Linked DNA regions of Homo sapiens: all the other regions are linked to region 2. Evidence: promoter capture Hi-C in 16 types of primary human blood cells and fetal thymus (Javierre and others, 2016). All regions are on one chromosome and are shown on one strand. The core of a region is centred on a gene start or on the middle of the fragment in contact, and the rest is flanking DNA. Distances in the headings are between cores, read along the strand shown.

Region 1 (2,700 bases), core at 5-2,504, 160 kb before region 2:
AAGTTGTTCTTCCACCATGAATCAGAACAATGCTTAACTAAGGCATTCTGAAGAGATACTGTGCTTTCTTCATGGATGTGCTAGGGAGCTATCTATAGCCCATTCAAAATATTCTATATGCAAATAAGAAGTTTAAGCCGGACAAAAATTCACTTTCCTGCCTTTCTCAAAGTGGTGGTATTCATGGCAGTCTTTGAGGAAAAATGGAAAACAGAAAAGGAAACAAAAAGAACAAAGCTGGAGGCATCACACTACCTGACTTCAAAATATACTACAAAGCTGTAGTAACTAAAACAACATGATACTGACAAAAAACCAGACACACAGACCAATGGGACAGAACGGAGAACACAAAAATAAATTCACATACTTAGAGCCAACTGATTTTCGACAAAGGTTCCAAGAACACACAATGGAGAAAAGACAGTCTCATCAATACATAGTGCTGGAAACTGGATATCCACATGCAGAAGAATAAAGCTAGATCCCTATCTTTTACCATATATAAAAATCAAATCAAAATGGATTAAAGACTTAAGTGTAAGACCTGAAACAATAAAACTAGTGGAAGAAAACACAAGGGAAATGCTTCATGACATTGTTCTGAGCAAGGATTTTTAAAATAAGACCCCAAAAGCACAAGAAACAAAAAGAAAAATAGACAAATAGAATTATTTCAAACTAAAAAGCTTCCGCACAGCAAAGGAAACAATCAACGGAGTGAAGAGACAAGTTGCAGAACAGGAGAAAATATTTGCAAATCATACATCTGACAAGGGGTTCATATTCAGAATATATGAGGAACTCAGAATACTCAAAAGCTAAATAATAATAATGATAATAATCTGCCAGAGTATGGTGGCTCACAGCTGTATTGCCAGAACTTTGGGAGGCCAAGGTGGGAGACTCACTTGAGGCCAGGAGTTCAAGACCAGCCTGTGCAAAATAGCAAGACTCTGTCTCTACAGAAAACTAAAAATTAGCCAGGCATGATAGTGCACACCTGTAGTCTTAGCTACTGGGGAGGCTGAGGTGGAAGAATCGCTTGAACCTAGGAGTTTGAGGCTGCAGTGAGCCATGATTGCACCACTGCACTCTAGCCTAGACAATAGAGCAAGAATCTGTCTCAAACAAAGAAAAAGTCGTGTATAGATACAATGGAATACTATTCAGCCATAAAAAGGAATGAAATCCTGTCATATACAACAATGTGGATGAACCTGGAGGATATTATGTAATGTGAAATAAGCCAGGCTATAGAAAGACAAATACCTCATGATCTTGATCATATGTGGAATCCAAAGAAGTTCACCTCATAGAAGTATTGAGTAGAACAGTGGTTACCAGAGGCTGCGGAGGGGAGGATGGAGAGAAAATAAAGAGAAATTGGTCAACGAGTACAAAGTTACAGTTAGATAGGAGGAATAAAGTCTGGTATTCTACTGCACACTAGGCTGACTATGGTTAACAATATTACATATTTCAAAATAGCTAGAAGAGATAATTTTGAATGTTCTCATCACAAAGAAATGATTATATAGTTTGGCTGTGTCCCCACCCAAATCTCATCTTGAATTGTAGTTCCCATAATCCCGTGTCGTGGGAGAAACCCATAGAAGGTAATTGAATCGTGGGGGCAATTACCCCCATGCTGCTGTTCTTATGATAGTGAGTGAGTTCTTACGAGATCCGATGGTTTTATAAGGGGCTTTCCCCACTTTTGCTCGGCACTTCTCCTTCCTGCCATCATGTGAAGAAGAATGTGTTTGCTTTCCCTTCTGCCATGATTGTAAGTCTCCTGAGGCCTAATTAAAGCTTTTTCCTTTATAAGTTACCCAGCCTCAAGTATGTCTTTATTAGCAGTGTGAGAAGGAACTAATACAAACGATAAATGTAAGAGATGATGGATATGCTAAATATCCTGATTTGATTTTCACACAATGTATCACATATTGAAACATCACACTGTATCCCATGAATATGTACAATTATGATGTGCCAATTAAAAACAAAATTAAAGAAAGGCAAACAAAATATCAAATGATGACAATAGGGAACAATTACATAACATTATATACTTGAGATAGGAAATTTTTTAAAAATCCATTACCTCTTGATATGGTTTGGCTCTGTTTCCTGACCCAAATCTCATCTTGAATTGTAATCCCCACATGTTGAGGGCAGGACCTGGTGGGAGGTGATCAGATCATGGGGGTGGTTTCCCTCATGCGGTTCTCGTGATAGTGAGGGAGTTCTCAATGAGATCTGATGGTTTAAAAGTGGCAGTTTCTGGCTGGGCATGGTGGCTCACACCTGTAATCCCAGCACTTTGGGAGGCCAAGGCGGGTGGATTACCTGAGGGCAGAAGATCGAGACCATCCTGACTAACACGTGAAACCTCGTCTCTACTAAAAATACAAAAAATTAGCCAGGCGTAGTGGCGGGCGCCTGTAGTCCCAGCTACTCGGGATGCTGAGGCAGGAGAATGACGTGAACCCGGGAGGCCAAGCTTGCAGTGAGCCAAGATTGCGCCACTGCACTCCAGCCTGGGCAACAGAGTGAGACTCTGTCTCCAAAAAAAAAAAAGAAAAAGTGGCAGTTTCCCCTGCACTCTCTCTCTCCTGCCAACAAGTAAGATGTGCCTTGCTTCCCCTTCACCTTCAGCCATGATTGTAAGTTTCCTGCGGCCTCCCCAGTTAT
Region 2 (2,700 bases), core at 164-2,663:
CTAAAAAAAAATTTATTATGTAACTTTGCCTTTTAAACAGTCTTTGCCTGGTATATTATCTAGAAGATTATACTCGGCGTTTGATAAATGATGACTAAACTGCAGAAGACAGACTGAGCATCAGTGGGCATGGCGCTTAATAACAAAGATTTTAAAATGTAAAAATAGAAATGTAGACTGGCAAAAAGTGCAAAAATGTTTTAAGGTTCCTTTCGCGGGGGGGAAGGGAGGGAATAGCCTCCCTCCTTAAATGCAGACAACCTTTCTCTTAATGACTTTTTCCTTCTATATAGTTATCAGAACTTAACCAAAACCTTCTTTTCCTTCCCGACTCTCTTTTCCTTACGTAATACTCATATGCAGACTCTTAGCCACACCCTAGTAAAGCAACTTCCCCAGCATTTTCCAATCTAAGTTTATTATCTCCTCCAACACTACAGTCTTTAGCTTCAAAATTTCAAGAGTCCTCTAATGTTCTATTTCTAATATGCTCATAACCATTTCAAAATCAAATGTTGCTAGAATATCTCTATCATGCTCACTGCTACACCCTCTCCCAACCACACCTTCATCATTTGAAACCTGCATTACAGCTCCACTCTCCCTATTCAGTCCTACAAACCTCATTAAGGCAGGAAGGCCAGAATCTGGAATTACTTAAGTCCAGGTGTATTTAAAGTGCGTGATCATTCTAGAGGACTAACTCATGTTTGTCTTTGTTCTTATTGTAGACCTAAATGACTTCACAAGGGCCCGTGTAACACCAGTATTGCAGACCCATGTGTCACAAATTCAACTAGCACATTGTTTTTCTCCCCCTTCTTCTATTTCTGTAGAAGATGAATCCGCAGGCAAGAATGATGGATGGGTGAAAGGGAGGGGGAATACGAAAGCCCAGAGGCGGAGACTTCACTTCCGATTGCCACGCTATATCAAGAAAGCCAACAGTCTGGCCTTTCCGCAAGCCACAAGAAAAGGCAGATCAGACTCCCCGGCTCCTCGGGTAGTTCTCAAAGGCAAAGACAAAAATAAGAAACTAGTCTGAAGAAAGAGAGTCCCTCGCTTCTTCAGAACTCACCTGTCAAGAGCGGCGTGGACGGCGCCATGTTGTCCCGGAAAGAGAAACCGCTCGGGTGAGAGTTCACCAGGGCCGAACCCGGCCCCTACACGTCTCCTCATGCGTGGAGACAGCGAATTGGTGTTTCCGGAGCCATCAGCCTCGGGGCCAATTCACTTCCGGTTACGGAGTGACGCGGAAAAGGCGCCCAAACGCGCACGCGCAAATCTAGGGCGACGCTTGACAGAGCTTGGGAGGGTGCGCCTGCTTTCGCCCTCCTTCTCCAGCGGGAGGGGCGCGCACTTCCGCGGGGCGGAGTCCGTCTAGTGCTGACGTTGGCAGCCGAACCCAAAGTAGATCGAGGCGGCGGGCTGCACATTCCCGTTGTTGCGTTGCGTTTCCTTCCTCTTTCACTCCGCGCTCACGGCGGCGGCCAAAGCGGCGGCGACGGCGGCGCGAGAACGACCCGGCGGCCAGTTCTCTTCCTCCTGCGCACCTGCCCCGCTCGGTCAGTCAGTCGGCGGCCGGCGCCCGGCTTGTGCTCAGACCTCGCGCTTGCGGCGCCCAGGCCCAGCGGCCGTAGCTAGCGTCTGGCCTGAGAACCTCGGCGCTCCGGCGGCGCGGGCACCACGAGCCGAGCCTCGCAGCGGCTCCAGAGGAGGCAGGCGAGTGAGCGAGTCCGAGGGGTGGCCGGGGCAGGTGGTGGCGCCGCGAAGATGGTCGCCAAGCAAAGGATCCGTATGGCCAACGAGAAGCACAGCAAGAACATCACCCAGCGCGGCAACGTCGCCAAGACCTCGGTAAGGAAAGAGCGGGCGCCCCTCTGCGTTCCGCAGCCGGAGCTGAGTCCGGGTCCCTGGGGCCGCGTCGCGTTTTCTCCCGGATCCGGCCGACCGTGGGCTGGTGCCGTGGAGGGGTAGGGGCCCGAGTCTGCGAACCGCCAGACTGTGGGGGCTCGGGAACGGAAGGGGAGACCTGTGAGGTGAGGGGGCCGGCGACCGGCGTGCAGGCGTGGGAGCCTGGGGTCCGAGTGGTTTCTCTGCATCTGAAATGGTGGATTTTCGCTTTTGCAGAGAAATGCCCCCGAAGAGAAGGCGTCTGTAGGACCCTGGTTATTGGCTCTCTTCATTTTTGTTGTCTGTGGTTCTGGTAAGTGGCTTGGGGGCTCCCATCAGGTAGAGTCTTGGGTTGAAAGGATTTGGGATGACGTGGTGACCGGTCAGTAGTGAGTCCTACCTGCGTAGTTCTCAACCCACCTGCCGAGGACTCCACATAATTCTGTTTCGTCTGAACCAAATTACTTGTTCCACATATGCACAGAGGGTGGTGCTCCAGAAACTTCTCCCAGCTTAATTTGTACTCACAGGAGATCAAAAAGGAGGTCAGGTCTTGGTAATGATCCAGTTGGAATAAATGTTAAGACCGGACAAAACCTAACGAAATGAGAATTTAGAATGTTTTGTAACTCCATTATCAGTCTTTGCAAAGAAAATTATAAATATGTACTATAGATGTTAGAACTTGATTTAACATATACCAGAATCTAATGTCTTAATGTCAAAATTGAGTATATTTTATAAAATAAAGCTTGTGCAAAGAATTGATTCACTATAGAGGAAATTACCTGATTGGCATTTTAATGT
Region 3 (2,700 bases), core at 65-2,564, 160 kb after region 2:
AGTGAGGGGTGCAAGATGATGTATTAGAGTGTGAGAAAAATATAAGAAGTTTATTTTTTAATCACATCCTTTAATGATACGTTTTTTAAATATTTTATGATGCACATAATATATTAGTACAATAGATTGGGGGAAGGGAGACAGAACAGAAAACACCATTTTTGCTGCTATAGAGATCCCCTAATTCTCTGCTTTCAATGAGAGCAGTTTCAATGTTGGCTTTTTGATGTCTACTGATTGCTGCAGACTTCTCTAGAGCTAAGTATGGAGTTTTATAAGACGCATGTCCTCCACTGCACAGCTGTATTCTATGACCAACCACAGAACACAATCTTTTTTTTTTTTTTTTTTTTTTTTTGAGACAGAGTTTTGCTCTTGTTGCCCAGGCTGGAGTACAATGGCGCAATCTTGGCTCACAGCAACCTCTGCCTCCCAGGTTCAAGTGATTCTCCTGCCTCAGCCTCCCGAGTAGCTGGGATTACAGGCATGCGCCACCATGCCCAACTAATTTTGTATTTTTAGTAGAGGTTTCTCTATGTTGGTCAGGCTGGTTTCGAACTCCTGACCTCAGGTGATCCGCCTGCCTCGTCCCCCAAAGTGTTGGGGTTACAGGTGTGAGCCACCGTGCCCAGCCTAGAACAGTCTTTCTTGCTAGGTCTTTGTCCTTCCCAGGGTTCCTGATACAGCTTTACCTCCTGATCCCTTCTCTTAGTAAAATTTCTTCTCACCTTTCCAAATTCTTCTAAAATGCACAAGCATTTTTGGGTACAGTAACAAGAGAGGCTTTAATGTAGAAATGCCACCAAAATATCCCCTGATGGTAAGACTTTTTGAGGTATAATGACATTGTGGTCACTTTTTTTTTTTTTTTTTTCTGAGATGGAGTTTCACTCTTGTCACCCAGCCTGGAGTGCAGTGGCATGATCTCAGCTCACTGTAACCTCTGCCTCCCGGGTTCCAGCGATTCTGCTGCCTCAGCCTCCTGAGTAACTGGGATTACAGGTGTGCACAACCACACCCAGATAATTTTGTATTTTTGGTAGAAATGGGGTTTCACCATGTTGGCCAGGCTGGTCTCAAACTCCTGACCTTGTGATCGGCCCGCCTCAGCCTCCCAAAGTACTGGGATTACAGGTGTGAGCCACCGTGCCCAGCCATTACTACAATAATTAAAAAAAAAAAAAAAAAAACTAATATGAGAAGCGGGAAAATGGCTGTGGTTGAATGACATGATTGACCAGGATTAGACAATTGTTGGATCAGAGTACTGGGTACATGAAGGTCATTATTATATTCTGCTTACTTTTTTGTATGCTCAATTTTTCATAATAAAAAGTTAAAAAAATCTTTTGAATCATTTATGGTTCATTTATTTAAAAAGAACCCCTCCTGCCACCTCCCCCCAGCCCCATATAAGGGCACCCCAAACCACAACTCTTGGGCTTGAATAATGTGTGAATCTATTTCAGATTTGGGCTTCAGACTGGTGTGAATTCTGCTCCTTCTGAGGCTGATTTCTTCCTTCCTCGCCCTCACTGACCACTTTCTTTTGTCCCAATGGCTATCTCTCAACCTGCCCACAATCACTTTCTTATAGTTAGCCTCCCCTCTTCTATCTTGTGTCTTTCATCTGCCTTCGTGGTTTTCTTTTCAAGTCATTTGTTCCCTGCCTCACCCCAAATCCCCTTCAGACATCAAATACTCAAATCTAGTCAGCATTCTCAGGCCATTTTCTTCCCTCTCCACCTAGTTCTGCCAGGCAGCCTGCCTCCCACTCCTGCCTCCATTCTGGGGGATGGTGTGCCAGCAGCACCAGAGTAGGAACTTCCCACCCTTCTTTTGCGAGCTGAGCTGACCTGGCTCTGGCCTGAGGTCTCATCCTGTGTGCTCTGAGTCTTTCAGCCTCATGTCACAATCCTCCATGAGGGGATTTCAGATACTTGCAGATTGGGAGGAGGTGACCTTTCTGCTTTTTTTTGCTGGGCCCGGTGGAAACCACCCCATCCCCTACCCCCACCTTCCTTGTACTGTAAAATGGGAAGTCTCGATGCAGGTTTCAGAGTTTCTGTTGGGGGACTTTCTAGGATGCCTATAAATTTTCGAGGTTTTGCACCCCTTTTAAATATACAAGCTCTTCTGAAAGTCCCTAAGGCATTTAGCATCATAGCTATAATCTCTAATATTTGAAGGATTTCAGGGTCTTCAAATAACTTGGATATATACCATCTCACTTGTACATTTTTTCCCTGTTCTTTTGTAACACAGCACCTGATTTGCTCTTCCTGCCACCATAGCGGTTCAAAGAGTCACTCTCCTCCACTTTGTTACACGCTCCATTTCACTGTTCGAATATTTTTTTTTCCCCTAGCAACTTTCTGGTCCCCTACCCCTAGCGTAGGTAGTAGATACTGCATCACCACTTCCCTTTCCCCTACTGCTCTGTGACCTACCACGTGAACATGAGAAAAGTGTCCGTCAGTGTGAACGAGCTCGCATCACAGTGTTGGGCAGCTGCATTCATTTTGACCTATAGTGAGGCCCGGGTTGGAGAACTAAGGGGGAGGGGCTGGAGCGGGAGAGGGAAGAAGAAACAGATACTTGTTCACTTTCCCTTCTCTCTCTGCACTTCCAATTTTAGAGAGGCTGGAGGCTAATTTCCCAGTTATAACAAGGGCCTTCACTTCAGCTTGTGTTTCAAAC
Region 4 (2,700 bases), core at 104-2,603, 240 kb before region 2:
TAATAAGTCTTTGAGAGAGGCAGGATGAGCCAGATGTGCTGTGGTGAAGGTTCTAGCTCTATTTCCCACTCTTCTTTCAATTTTCCCCTCCTCCATGTGAACAGCCCATCACTACCATCTGATAGTAACTGATTTAGGAACATAGGCTTAAACCATCAGTAGCTGGTATTCCCAGGGCTGGTCTAGGGATGGGCGTATGATCCAATTTGGCCTAATCAGACTTCAGGGAATGCCTTATTTCATGGGTGGAGGAGAGGTTTTCTTTTCCTTCCTGTGGATGTAAACAAGAACACTTATTGCCCCAGTCACTGCTGCCCATCATCTTGCAACCATAGGGGTAAGTCAGCTTGAGGACGCTCCATGTGGAGGAGAGGAAAGCTGAAAGAGGAGTGGGAAATAGAGCTAGACCCCTCACTGAAGCACATCTGGCTCCCCCTGTCTCTCCAAGTGCAACATGTGCTATGATCAAGATGTGTTCCATCTAGAGGCTCTAGGAAAAGATTTGTTTTATTTCCTTTCTCAGCTTCTAAAGGCCCTCTGCATTCCTTAGCTTGTGGCCTCTTTCTCCATCTTCAGAGCTGGCAATGTTGCAACTCTGAACATTCTTTCATAATCACATCTCCTTCTGACTACAACTGGGAAAGGATTTCTTCTTTTAAAGATCCATGTGATTAGATTGAACTCACACCAATAATGAATACTGTCCCTATCTCAAAGCCCTTAACCAAATCACATCTGCAAAGTTCCTTTGCCAGTAAGATAATGTATTCACAAATTTCAGAGACTTAGGACTTAGACAGCTTTGGGCGGGTGTTATTCTGCCTACCATACCACCTCATAGTTCCTTCAGGCTCAGATCCACACTTTGTAGTTATATATTTCCAAACTCTAGATAGAGGTCAAGAAAGTCAGGAAAAAAGCATTTCCACAAGAATAAAAAGAAAAAAACTAAGTGGATTCAGCAATGTGTTCCATTTGATGGGTAACAGTCTCTCCCTGGATTAAATAATAACTGTTGAAAAGGTCCTACAGGCTAATGTTAGCTAAAAGAGGGCTGAACAAAGCCCAAATTAAACTGCGTAAATTCCCTGAGGTCTCTGGAGAGTTTTCTGTATAAAAGGAAGGTCACAGGTGATATTGTATTTCTTATAACCCCAAGGACACAATAACTTTTATGTCAAACTGGAAATGAAATAAAATGCTGGCTTCTGAAAATTCATCAGATCAAGGAGAACATCTTGACTGGACAATGAGAAAATTTATAACTCTTCAGTCACCTCCTCGATCCTTTTAACTCTGGGGATTGCCATTGAATAGCTAACTCAGTCATGGAAATTAACTTATCCAGTCAAAAGGAAATTGTCTGCCTAAGGATGAACACAGAGGATCTGGCTACAACTAAAAACTCTTGCTCTCCTAGCTTGGCTACTCAATAGAAAAGGAAAGGGAAGTGTGAAAACATCAAATAGAAGAAGCAGTAATGAATTTTGCCAGCTACCTTTTTTTTCAATAGTGAGCAGTGCCGAGAATGAACATAAGGAATCAGTGCTCAGCAGACCTGGATTGTAGCCCCGCTGGGACATTAACTAGTTGTTAAGACTTTGGTCAAATGCCTTAACCTTCTGGGGACCATGTTTCCTTGTCCTTTTTTAAAAAATTTTAAAAATATTGACATGCATTTTTTAAGATGCATTAAAGAAAAAATTCATAATACTTCCACCACATAACACACACATATGCACACACACACACACACACACACACACACCCCTACTTCCTCTTATTCCACCCTCCAAGGGTGGAACGTCTAGTGAGTATCCCCTCGATACCTTTCTCCATGCTCGCATGCAAGCAGATATTCCTAAAGAGTTTGAATTTTTTGTTCTTACAAAAACTGAATCATACTATGTTTAAGACTCCACAATTTCTTTTTTTTTTTCATTCAACTTACTATGGTGATCCTCTAGAACAATTCATATAGATCTAATTCATTCCTACACACTAATTTAAATTGGAATTATGAATATACCAAATTACATTTATACCAAAATATATCCTATTGAAGTACAGTTCAGTTGTATCTCAATTTTGTTTTGTTTTGCTACTAAAAAATGTGCAAAAATCATCTCAATTACGTATTTCTATGTTCTACAGCTTTCATATCTGAAAAATATACTCCTCAAAATGAGATTTGGGGCAAAAAATATTTTTAAAAATTTTAATAAATATTACTATACTATCTCCCCAAGAGCAGTAATAATTTTCAGTCCTACCTTCAGTATATGAGAAGGCCTGTTTTCCCTCTATTAGCACTGTATGTCATTAATCTTTTTAGTTTTTGCCACTTGATAAGGAAAAAATGGTATCTTGTGTTGTTTAATTTGCAATTTTGAATGCTAGTAAGGTTGTTCATCTCATTTCTTAGTAAACTTTAGTTGCTAATTTAGGTTTTTACTCTGTACAGACACTATTCTTATGAGAAAAATGGAGGCATATTTTGGACTAAATCTCTAGCAAAATCACCGTAACTGTTATCTGGAATACCAGTTTAGCCAGAAACCAATCAGTACCTGAAAGCAGTCTGTAGCTTGGCTGTTGTATAACACCTCAACCCCATTTTAAGGAAGATCTTCAAAAAACTTCTGGAGAAGTCTAAATTGCAAACGATGATCACCACCACAGAGGCAGGAGTAATGGATG
Region 5 (2,700 bases), core at 70-2,569, 190 kb before region 2:
GGATGCTGTTCTGTGATCTAAAACAACTCTTATTGAATTGTATTTACTCCCTAAACAACACTTGACAGGCTGTTGCACAGGGCTTCTATAGATCAGTGTGTTAGGAATGGGAGGCCCCTTCCTGCCTGCCTTCCCATATTGGTCCCTTGACATTGACAAAAGCACAGTGACTGTCAGCAGATTCCTTTACTTTTGTTTGTGGGAGGTAGGAATTGTTTTAATGCATTTTAAACAGTGTTTCTGAAATTGGATGGCTGGCTAATAGACACTGAATCACCCGGAGTGCTTATCTTAAAATTGCAGATTTAGGGAGCCTGCCAATTTAACAGTCTCATCAGGTGATTCTTTTCAACAGTAATGTTTGAGAATTACTGGGTTAAATTGTGGGAAAGGGTCCAGATTTTAAAGGTGCTTTAAGGTTGCCCTCTGCCGATACTGTTTGTCTTTCTACTGTTTCATCCCCTAACTTCCCCCAACCCTCAAATTAAAACTAGAACTATAGATCCACATGAACGCACGCCTGAGATTTGGCCACTCACCTATGTTTTGGGTGGATTGCCTAGGAAAGCAAGTCATATGGCCATTGATAGTTCTCATGTAATTAGTTTTGCTCACCACTAGTACAGATGACCCGTTTACACGTGGCTTCCCTCGGAAGCCCTCCTCAACAGTAGCTGGTGTGAAAGACTAAATCAGTAGAGTTGGAAAAGCTTTATAACCGGTGTGTCATATGCTTGCTATTTAAAGCTGTGTGTTGGTTTTGTTTTTCTGCCACATTCACTAGTTTTTTAATAAATATTTTCCAAAAATGGATATTGTGCTTCATTTCCCTAATTGAGTAATGGGTATTTATTGAGCATCTACTGTGTGCAAGTGCAATGAACCTTCGTCACTACATCTGGGGTTGGAACTTTCACTGTTTGTTTCCACTGTGGAAACAGTCATTGGGCCAAGGTCATGGCACGGGTCCATGACAGCACTGGGGTCCGGGCTCATGTGTCTGAACCACTGACTGTCAGTGCTGCAGGTCTCCTCCCAGGGCTGTCGTTTCTATCTGACAGTGCCAGTACCTGTGCAATAAGAGGATTGCTCCAGCTTTACAGAGTCAGAAGGAAGACGCTTGGCCACTGCTGACATCCAGAGTGCTGGCGTTGATCCAAGCTGACCCACTCCCTCAGTCCCAACCCTAAACTCTCAAAAGAATTTAGAGGATTAGGGCCAAATGCTCAGCAAGGATTGAAGGCTGCTTACCTCAGTGTCCCAATTTCTTTCTTTTTTTTTTTTTTTTTTTTTGAGACAGAGGCTGGAGTGCAATGGCACTCACTGCAATCTCTGCCTCTAGGTTCAAACAATTCTCCTGCCTCAGCCTCCCAAGTAAGTGGGACTAGAGGCCTATGCCACCACACCCAGCTAATCTTTGTATTTTTAGTAGAGATGAGGCCAGACTGGTCTCGAACTCCTGACCTCAAGTGATCCACTTGCCTCGGCCTCCCAAAGTGCTGGGATTAAGGCATGAGCCACCACACCCAGCCCTCAGTGTCCCAATTTCATTAGCATACTACCAAATGGAGGTGATGGCTTTGGAGTTGATTTTGTTTTTTAAGTGAGATACAGCGTTGAGTTTTTAGCCAGCACAGGGCTCTGACATTTAAAGAATTGCTAAAGTAACCTCTTCTGTAAAAGTGAAAAACGGTGCCCTACACAAAAGTAGGGGTTTACAACATCTGTGGTGAATGAATAAAAACCACAACTCTTATCACTAAGAAAGTCACATTTCAAGTCCATATACAGAGGAACCTATGAAGGTGAAACTAGGATCCAGGAGCAGATGAACTCTGACCCTCAGGACCAGAGCCAGTCCAGATATGGCCTCCAGGGCCCTCACGGCACCCATGCAAGGTGCAGTGTGCATACACTAGCCAAGCTTGGCAGCATCACTTCATGTCCACGGCTTACCCTCTTACTACGTGTGGTAGAGGAATCAGGACTGATTGGTTAACAGTGCATAAAACGCAAACCTATAAACAAAAGACATAAAGAAGGAGAAAGTGGACACAAGTTATTCCAAAAGCACAAAAAGAGTTTTAGCCCAAAAAGGTAAAGTGATGGGCCAGCAGCCACACAGTGCATTACTGGCAGCACTGGTTCTATAATTCAGGCTTCTTGATTCCCCATTCAAACTTGCTCCTAGAACTTAACAAATGAAAAAGTTGTAAGCAACGCAACTCTGAACTTTTATTTTCCAGAGTTACGTAGTTCCCTTTCATCTCTGTCACTGGAAATCTGTAAACTTAACCTTTACTCTTGACTTTCTTGAAACTGTGCATTTTCTACCAGAAAATAAAAATCCCCAGGTTATTCCGTTTTAACAGGAAGTGAAAACAGCAGAAAAAGATTATGTAAATTAAAATGCCTTTTTATGCAGTTCCAATTGCAAATGCAATTTAAAACATGATGAGTATATTCCTTGACTTGTTGCTTTTAAAAAAAGTGAGAAAAAAAAAGAAAAGTAATGATAGGCATTTGTCAAAACTCATCACGTGGTCCACTTAAGTACCATATTTTAAAAAATAAAATAAGAATATTTTATCTTTCCTGTCCTAGTTCAATATTCTAATTTGGTAATCTGGCGATTAAACGATGGTAGATTAAGCCTGTGTCTTATGACGCATGAGTCATTCTAAAGAAAAAAGGGTTCTC

The links. Contacts are between HindIII fragments. The CHiCAGO score rates a contact against its expected background, and 5 or more counts as called.
Region 1: a contact is called between a fragment that was not itself captured here and the fragment with the promoter of SERP1 in region 2, in 5 of 17 cell types (non-activated CD4 T cells, total CD8 T cells, fetal thymus and 2 more). The highest score is 6.8, in non-activated CD4 T cells.
Region 3: a fragment that was not itself captured here is called in contact with the fragment with the promoter of SERP1 in region 2 in 1 of 17 cell types (naive CD4 T cells); the score reaches 5.2 in naive CD4 T cells.
Region 4: a fragment that was not itself captured here is called in contact with the fragment with the promoter of SERP1 in region 2 in 1 of 17 cell types (activated CD4 T cells); the score reaches 6.1 in activated CD4 T cells.
Region 5: a contact is called between a fragment that was not itself captured here and the fragment with the promoter of SERP1 in region 2, in 1 of 17 cell types (activated CD4 T cells). The highest score is 6.9, in activated CD4 T cells.

What each region holds. Positions count from the first base shown.
Region 1 is chr3:150,706,582-150,709,281 of GRCh38, reverse strand. It overlaps ERICH6-AS1 (ERICH6 antisense RNA 1), which reads right to left. Exons shown (of 3, transcript NR_121675.1): 2 at 1,273-1,350. Among named protein-coding and RNA genes, the nearest start is that of ERICH6, 4.0 kb to the right of the region's middle. The HindIII fragment of the contact is 1,126 bases long and covers 692-1,817 here.
Region 2 is chr3:150,545,209-150,547,908 of GRCh38, reverse strand. It overlaps SERP1 (stress associated endoplasmic reticulum protein 1), which reads left to right and starts at 1,413. Exons shown (of 3, transcript NM_014445.4): 1 at 1,413-1,857; 2 at 2,131-2,206. The coding sequence starts at 1,774. EIF2A (eukaryotic translation initiation factor 2A) reads right to left here and starts at 1,122. Exons shown (of 14, transcript NM_032025.5): 1 at 1,079-1,122. The coding sequence starts at 1,106. RefSeq lists enhancers at 815-1,354, 627-1,826, 1,272-1,902. The HindIII fragment of the contact is 4,802 bases long and covers 1-2,646 here.
Region 3 is chr3:150,384,785-150,387,484 of GRCh38, reverse strand. No RefSeq gene overlaps it. Among named protein-coding and RNA genes, the nearest start is that of TSC22D2, 22 kb to the left of the region's middle. RefSeq lists enhancers at 1,697-2,006, 2,065-2,234, 2,607-2,700. The HindIII fragment of the contact is 8,290 bases long and covers 1-2,700 here.
Region 4 is chr3:150,788,722-150,791,421 of GRCh38, reverse strand. No RefSeq gene overlaps it. Among named protein-coding and RNA genes, the nearest start is that of SIAH2, 27 kb to the right of the region's middle. The HindIII fragment of the contact is 3,952 bases long and covers 1-2,700 here.
Region 5 is chr3:150,739,238-150,741,937 of GRCh38, reverse strand. SIAH2 (siah E3 ubiquitin protein ligase 2) reads left to right here. Exons shown (of 2, transcript NM_005067.7): 2 at 1-813. Among named protein-coding and RNA genes, the nearest start is that of SIAH2-AS1, 21 kb to the left of the region's middle. RefSeq lists a silencer at 992-1,071. The HindIII fragment of the contact is 1,214 bases long and covers 713-1,926 here.